Linked DNA regions of Homo sapiens: region 1 is linked to region 2. Evidence: promoter capture Hi-C in 16 types of primary human blood cells and fetal thymus (Javierre and others, 2016). All regions are on one chromosome and are shown on one strand. The core of a region is centred on a gene start or on the middle of the fragment in contact, and the rest is flanking DNA. Distances in the headings are between cores, read along the strand shown.

Region 1 (4,660 bases), core at 1,832-4,331, 550 kb after region 2:
GCAGCAGCCTCCCAAAGAGGACCAGCACACCTACAGGGAGAAAAGTGGGGAGGCCACTTCAGGAGGAGAAACGGAATGGCACTTCTTTTGCTTTGCCTACACTTTAATTTGACTGCTAGAAACACATGTGGGAGATCTAGTAGTCCTTTTTGAAAACATAAACAATTTTGGGAGAGTAAAGGGATGGTGATCCATTAACTCGTTAGTGTAAGTGAATTCAATCAGATTGCTTTTCTTTTAACACCTAGGCAAGATCAGATACATTGGAGGAAGAAGAGTTTTAATTATTCTGAAACCTCCACTAAGGGAAATGAGATGAACCTGGAAAGTTATTCAATTGGTGCAAAAGTAACTGTGGTTTTTGCCATTAATTTTAATGGCAAAAATATTTTTAATATTTAGGTCTCTGAGCTATGGGAGAGGAAAGGGGTTCTAGAAGTGAAATAAAAGTGCAGAAAAGAAGAGGTTTCAAATGTAAAGTTTACCAATTTATAGGAAAGGGAAATTAATTATTATTATTATTTTTTGAGGCGGAGTTTCACTCTTGTTGCCCAGGCTGGAGTGCAGTGGCACAATCTCCGCTCACTGCAACCTCTGCCTCCCGGGTTCAAGTGATTTTCCTGCCTCAGCCTCCCAAGTAGCTGAGATTACAGGCATGCACCACTATGCCTGGCTAATTTTGTATATTTAGTAGAGACAGGGTTTCACCATGTTGGCCATGCTGGTCTTGAACTCCTGACCTCAAGTGATCCACTCGTCTCGGCCTCCCAAAGTGCTGGGATTACAGGTGTGAGCCACTGCGCCTGACTGGAAATTAAATTTTTAAAAAAGTATCTACGAGGTTCCAGGAATAGTAAAAGTCAATTCGTGTACCTTGTCACATTTAATTATCCCAACAGTCCCTGTGTCGCTTTTCTCTCATTTAACAGATTAAATAAGCAAAGATCAGAAACTGCCACAGAGAGTGACTTGTCCAAGTCAGCTGATTAATGACAGCCAGGAATCATTGAACCCAGATTCCTTTTCTTCCAAACAAAGCCCTTTCCCCACAATAATTTCTTTGGAGTAGAATCTAGCCATTCCTTCTGAGAATGTTTATGTAAGGAAATGTAGGTCAAAGTCTTGCCATACAAACACAATTCTGAAACACTACCTGTTTTTTAAACGGAGACTGCTTATATTCATCTTAATCATAATACTATTATTTGTTCTGGAGTGGGAGGGGTTCTTCGCAATATACAGAATTGGCCTAATGGGCTCCTTTTATCAATGCTTGCTTTTTAGATCATCTCCCTGCAAATCCGTTGGCATCATCCACACAAACATACGCCGGGGTGTTATTTAATTAACCATGGAGCTATGAACATTGTGAAATTCAAGTGTACATATGTTTTCAAACAACATATTTTAAATAAAATTATTTGCAACCAGAAAAGGAAGCTCATTTATTCATAATTCATTTGACTAATGTCTGTTGAGCATCTCTGTGCCAAGCACTGTAGTAGGATGGAGGCTGCAACAGTGAACTAGATAGTCCCTTTCCTCAAAGAGACTATGTCTCCTTAAAAATCTCAACATACTTTGAAGGTTTTTTTAAAAATTACATTAAAATGACCTTGTGGAGTAAAACAAAGAAAAAAATCAATGTATTGAGAAGAAACGGCATAGAAATAGCCTTTTCACCACATAAAATATAAATAATCTCTAGGTTTTGCTGCTCATCTGGTGCACTTAAAAATGTTTCTTGGATGAATGCCTGTCATTCAATCAGGAATCCAATGCTCTCACTGTATGGAGTGCATTACAAGTTGCACTGGGGGAAATATGGACACGTTCTCAAGCAGGCTGCAGTCTAATGGAGGAGACCAGGCAGGCCGAAATAAACAAGAAAGCTCTAGGTCAGGGTTTGGCAAACATTTTCTGTAAAGGGCTAGATACCGAATTTTAATTTTAGGCTTTCTGGCCCATATGGTCTCTGTTGTAATTACTCACTACTGTCATTGTAGCATGAAAGTAACCATAAACAATATGTAAATGTATGAGCACAATTGTGTTCAAATAAAGCTTCGTTGACAAAAACAGGCAACAGCCTTGATTAGACGAACAAGCTGTAGCTTCCAGACCCTGGTTCAGGTGAAGTCATCCCTTCCTTTCTTACCACAGAATGTGTGTCCTTTCCAAAGTGATGAGGCCATCTTTCAGATAAATAAGCCATGCTTGGGTCAATTACCCTTTGAGTCACTCCATTCCTATGCTGAACTTCCATAAAATCACAATAAGCCCACCTTTCAACATTAAAATAATAAATTACAATTACAAATGGTGAGAAAAGTGGGGAGGCCATTGCAAGTGGGAAGTGGAATTGGCCCAGATTCAGAGAGGGAGAGCCTGAGGGTACAAAGGACAGCCTAATGGAAGAAAGCACATGCACAGGCAAGAATGTAGCAGGAGCTTTCCATGGGAGGATGGGGTGAATCCTTGGAGCTGGAATTTTAATTCAATTTGAAAAACAAGCAAGGGCCTGTAAGGGAGGGACAGACTCAATGTAATGAGAATTAAGGCAGAAAGAAGTTAGAGTCTGGAAGCTAAGAGGGATCTAGATCAATGATCTAGGCATAGAGTGCTGACGGTCTGTATTCCCATCAAGGCCTTGGTGAGGGAGTTGCAGGTGTAAAGTTCCAGGAAAGCGAAAGATTGAAAGCCGATAAACCCTGAAACACCTGGTACAACAGCAGTACAGACCAGATTGGGTGGCATAATCCCAACTCAAGCACTTTGCATACAAAGCAGAGGTCAGCTGAACACCATAATCTCAAGGCAGGTATCTCTCATGTCAGCACCAGAGGCAGCCAATGTCATAAGCCTATATCAGGCATCCCACACATGCTGTAGACCACCTCCAGCTAGTCTAGTACTTGTTTATCCAACAATTTCAGACATTGCTTGTCAATCAGCAACACTCAGAGGCTTTGCTTTCCTAGTATGGGACAGACACAGTTCACAGTTTGTCTTTAAAAGACCTATTCCATTTCTCTTCCCTGAACCTCATTCCCTCAAGTCTAGACTGTCCTGGATGTTTCCCTGTGTCCATTTGGTGCTCAGCCTTCGGTGTTTTAGTATTTTTATTTTCTCTTTAATGGCATGAAGCCTAATTTCTACTTGGCCACTTATTTTCATACTTTTTAGATTCTTTTTTTTTTCTTGCATTTCCATGTCCTACTCCTTAACATCCACCCTCCTACAATGTTTGATAAACATTAACTGAATTGAATTTCCCTTTCTGTGTATTCTACTGTGTCACTTCTGGACAAATTGATAGGGTATTTCAAGGCTCTACTTTTTGTTTTTGTCTTTTTAAAGAGGTGTTGCTCTGTTGCCCAGGCTGGAGTGCCTGGACCTGCTAGGTTCAAGTGATCCTCCTGCCTCAGCCTCCCAAATAACTGGGACTACAGGCACACACCAACACGCCCACCTATTTTTTTTCACTTTTTCCAAGATGGGGTCTTGCTACATTGCCCACACTGATCTTGAACTCCTGGCCTCAAGCAATCCTCCTACTTCAGCCTCCTGAGTAACTAGGATAAAAAACACAAACCACCACATCTGGCTTCCAAGGCTCTACTTTTTAATCACAGTAATGCAAGGGTAAATGTAGTTGTTTGAGATTGGCTGAGAGAAGGTGCCAAGCCAGATGGATCTCCGCTCAGAGAAGATCCTATGACTAAAGGACCCCATGAGCTGAAACCAAGAGCTTAAGAACCCTAAGGAGGATACTGATCTCAACCTTGAACATGAGATAAGCAGTGGGGTGAAGAGGATCCTCACCCGGGAATAATGATGTCATTAGGCATTAGGGAAGTGTCACAACTTGGGCTCCCTGGGGAGCAGAATCTGAGTTTAGCATGCAGGATCCTTATTAAAATGAATCCTTAAGATTAATACTTGTGGAAAGGAGAGAAAGAACACCAGATTGGAAAGGGGGAGAAGTGAAGCTGGGGCGCAAGCCTGACGTCACCCTTGGCTGACCATGAGGGGAATGCTGGAGCTAGAATAGACCTTCAAATTTACCCTGAGGTGGGCCATGATGCCCAAGCTTTTATACTCCCATGTCAATCAATTACTACATGTAAACTGTCCTGAGAAGGGGCATGACTTTAAGCAAAGTCACTCTGAAAAGCCGAGGCAATCCCTGAAGGGGCTGAGAGCTGAAGGTTGTTTGCAAACAGCACTCCTGGCAACCAGGACAACAAATCCTTCATTGAAGAGGAATCTGGGCAGTGCCTCACAGAGTTTACTCTAGTGAACAGTTTGTGCTGCTTGATCCACTTCGTATGTATCTTGATCCACTTCGTAGCAGGTCTTCTAAGATTCTAGTGGATTACTTTCCATGGGGCAACTTAGCAGAGAAGGTCAAGGGAGTGAATTGTGCCCCTGCTACTCCAGCCAGTCTCAAGGCTGCAACTGATACTCACCATCACCCTCCCCCACTATCCATTCTAGATTCCCCTCATCCTTGGCCAGCACCTCTGCTGGTCTGTCATATCACTCCGAACAAGGTTACTGTACTTTTCCATCCACCAGAGGGCCACCAAAGTTGTCAAACATATTCTTCACTGCTCCTTCTTCTTGATGACTAGGATCAATGGCTGCTTCCAGGATG
Region 2 (4,059 bases), core at 144-2,643:
ACTTCCAGATAGGAGAGGACCTCAAATTGTAACAGGTGACAACATCACTACATTGCTACAGATAGTTGTCATTGGCCATTAACAAGGACTACACATTCATTTGAGTCGCATCTCTTTCAGGAAGCAATTATTTTGGGGTCCAAAATGCTTGTATACCCTTTAGTTCTGCACCTTCATATTATGTTAACTAGTACTCCCCTAAGTAGTTGAACTTAAGGGATGCTAAGAAGGGCCCCAGATATCGTCAATGAAACAATGTCCTTTCTTTTGGGTTAAGTCCTGAGGAATCTGTGATACTTAGCCCAGTCAGATGGTTTCTCTGAAAGGTAAATGGAAGTCAGCACACGGAGAAGTGAGGGGATACAAGAGGAGAAGGAAGCACTAGGCCTTTCCCAGGGCATCTGAGCCTATGGGGGCCCCTGAGGGGAGCCCTCTGGCTGCTCCAGATTGGCACTGGGTGCTGGCTGGTGGGAGTGAAGTAGATCTGGGAGAGATTCTAAAAGGGGTGTGGGAGCAGAAAAGGAAGTGCGCTAGTCATCTATTATTGTATAACAGTATTACCACAAACCTCGTGGCTTAGAACAGCCCACATTTGTTATCTCAGTTTCTAGGTCAGGAGTTGGACATGGCTGGATCCATTGTCTCAATATCTCTCACAAGAATGCAATCAAGATATTGGTCAGGGCTGATTTCTCATCTGAAAGCCTGACTAGGAAATGATCCATTTTCATGTAGTAGTTAGCTAAATTCAGTACTTTGAGAGCTACTGCATTGAGGACCTCAGTTTTTAGCTGGCAGCCATCCTCAGTTTCTTGCCATGTGGGCCTCTCCCAACATGGCAGCTTGCTTCATCAAAGCATGCAAGCTGAGAAGGCAATAGAGAGAGTTTGGTAGGAAGAAGGAAATCACAATCTTATGTAACTTAATCGTGGAAGTGACATCTCATCCCTTTTGACATATTCTATTGGTTAAAAGCATGTTACAAAGTCTTGCCCACCCTCAAGGGTGAAGAGCATTACAAAAGGGCAGAACACCAGGAGGTGGAGATCACTGGGGGTCATCTAGAGTTTGCCCATCACGTGGAAGAAAGTGATGGCAGACATCCATTGTTTTTTCTGGTTGCTATCCATTCCTCCTTCTGGTAATTATACCTAGATTTTCCTTTGACGAATAGCCCCCTCCACCATTTCAACAATGTTTCTGGCAGTCTCAGCCCCAGATGTCGAAAAGTGACTTAAGCTGGCGAATCAGCATATCACATGTCTGGGTTCACAGTGGTGAGTTTACAGATGCACATGTGACCCAACAAGAGCCAATGAAGAGCAAGGAAACTTTCTTGGGAATCCTGGAAAGATATGCTCTATTTTTCAGGTTGACTTAAAACTAGAGAGGATCTAGGAACTGGAGCTGCTGCCTCTGTCTGCTAAGATGTGAAGTCCAAGACTGAAAGTAACATAGCAGAAGGAGAACCAAAAGATATGTTGAGTCTTGATGCTATTTGTTGAACCAGTCCTGAATCCAGCTGTGTCGTAAGTGAATTATTCCTAACATGATGACAGAAGCCTGACATTAATTTATCAAGGCATGCTGAAGAATATTTGATTATTGGATATAGTGCAATACCAAAACTATGTAAATAATAGGCACATCTGGTTCGTGTAATTTAAGAGGGGTAAAGGTAGGGAATATTCCCTAGACAAGTTCATTCATCAGCAAATATATATTTTGCCCTTATTACATGTTAGGTCCAAGGGCTATTACATATAGTTGGGCAGTTTGTGCACTGCACAAATGTACCTACTCAGGAGGGTAAGGGAACTGAAACCAAGTCTTCCTTATATTTGCCAAACATTTGCCCTGGTGTGGGAGTGGTTTCATCCCAGGAGAGAGTGATGTTTATAACTTGCTAACTGGCCAGTTGTTCCTCTGCTAAGCTGAGTAGGATGGAAGGAGTGAGCATGGTAGAAAGATGTGGCTACAAAGAGGAACACACATGTGGTTCTTGCCCTTTAGGAGTTTAATTCAAGTATGGGGTTAGTTATGCAAACTGAAGATCATGATAAAATGTCGTAAAGGCTAATAACGATTTTGGAACATATGGTTATGGCCTTGGAACTATAAATTGAGGAGCATGGTCCACAGACTTTTATCTTTCTAATGCGTGAATAGAATAGAATATTTGAAACTGGTACTTGTGGCTTTCTGGTTGCCATAGGCATGTATATAGTGTAAAGGGAACAAAAGGGTTCTTGACAAATTTGACTTGGGGAGTGAAAGGAATTAGAGAGGATGTCAAAGAAGTGGTATGTTGGATCTGGATCTTGAAGGTAAATAGCAAGTGCAAAGATTAGTGAAGTGAAAGCACTTGGTCCATTATAGGAATGGTAAATAACTGCTATGGCTTGAACTTGGAATGTGTGAGAGAGGGCAGAGGATATGTAAGATTGAGGTTAGAGCAGGAGTAGATTAGGAAGAGGCTTCTGGGACAAGCTTTGGAGTTTCAATATCCCTTTATTCACAGGGAGTCAGCGCAGCTTTTGAAGCTGGAGAGCATCATATTTTAGAAAGATCAAGCAATGTGGATGAGGACACATTAAAAAGAGAAGACCGAGAGGAGGGGACACCACTCAGGCTTATAACCTCCAGGTAAGAGATGACCAGTGTGAATCTTGGCATTGGCATTGGGGTTGGAAAGGATGGAACTTAGATGTGAGACAGCTCACAGATACAGTCTACAGGCTGGTCTACTGTTAGATGGGTGTTGTCTTATTCTACTTGGGTTCTATACCAGAATATCTTAGCCTGGGTAACTGATAAACAACAGAAATTTATTTCTTACAATTTTAGAGCCTGGGAAGTCCAAGATCAAAGTGCTAGCAGATTCAGTGCCTGTTCCTATAGCTAGTACCTTCTCTCTGTCCTCACATGGTGGAAGGGGAGGGAAGCTGCCTTCCCTTGCTCTCTCTCTCTTTTTTTTTTTTTTTTTTTTTTTTGAGATAGGGTTGGCTCTCTTGCCCAGGCTGGAACACTGGCACTATCATAGCTCATTGTAGCCTTGAACTTCCAGGTTCAAGCAATCCTCCCACCTCAGCCCCCACCAGTATCTGGGATTACAGGTGGGTGTCACCATGCTCAGCTGATTTTGTACTTTTTGTAGAGGCAGGGTTTCACCATGTTGCCCAGTCTGGTCTCAAACATCTGAGCTCAAGTGATTTGCCCACCTCACCCTCCCAAAGTGCTGGGAATACAGGTGTGAGCCAGTGTGCCTGGCCCAACATCTTTTATAAGGGCACTAATTCCATTCATGAGGACAGAGCACTCATGGTTTAATCACCTCCTATATTCTATCACATTGGGGATTAAGTTCCAACATATGAATTTTGGGGAAACACCAAAAATTTTGGGGAGACAGCAACATAGCAGGGGTAGAGAAAGAGGTAGGGAAGAAAGGTTAACAGTGATGCTTTTGTGCAATAGTGTCAAAAACGTCTCACTACAGCACAAATTGTGAAAAAAATAGCATTTTTCTTGTTTACTACTTAGTTAATGGTCTTTGATAGCTCTTAACCCAATGGTAAGAGAGAAAGAAACATAAAGTGAAAAAACAAAAAACTTGGCCGGGCATGGTGGCTGACATCTGTAATCCCAGCACTTTGGGAGGCTGAAGTGGGCGGATCATGAGGTCAGGAGATTGAGACTATTCCAGCTAACACGGTGAAACCCCGTCTCTACTAAAAATACAAAAAATTAGCTGGGTGTGGTGGCACGTGCCTGTAGTCCCAACTACTTGGGAGGCTGAGACAGAAGAATTCCTTGAACCCAAGAGGCAGAGGTTGCAGTGAGCAGAGATCGCGCCACTGCACTCCAGTCTGGGCAATAGACCGAGACTCCATCTCAAAAACAAAAACAAAAACAAAACAAAACAAACAAACATACAAAAACAAAAAAACAACAAAAAACTTTGGTGCTAACTAGAGAAATATCAGTCTCTTCCAAGTTAAAATAGTTCCTTTCAGGTTAACACCACTTTCCTGGTTACATTCAGGCTTTCAGGGTCTT

Evidence for each region. The method cuts DNA at HindIII sites, captures the fragments that hold promoters and counts their contacts. A CHiCAGO score of 5 or more calls a contact.
Region 1: a fragment that was not itself captured here is called in contact with the fragment with the promoter of LHFPL3-AS1 in region 2 in 2 of 17 cell types (M1 macrophages and naive CD8 T cells); the score reaches 5.3 in M1 macrophages.

What each region holds. Positions count from the first base shown.
Region 1 is chr7:104,252,517-104,257,176 of GRCh38, reverse strand. No RefSeq gene overlaps it. Among named protein-coding and RNA genes, the nearest start is that of ORC5, 47 kb to the right of the region's middle. The HindIII fragment of the contact is 2,029 bases long and covers 2,067-4,095 here.
Region 2 is chr7:104,801,426-104,805,484 of GRCh38, reverse strand. LHFPL3-AS1 (LHFPL3 antisense RNA 1) reads left to right here and starts at 1,393. Exons shown (of 4, transcript NR_034141.1): 1 at 1,393-1,529; 2 at 2,522-2,646. All of the region lies in intron 2 of LHFPL3 (LHFPL tetraspan subfamily member 3), which reads right to left. The HindIII fragment of the contact is 2,660 bases long and covers 1-2,492 here.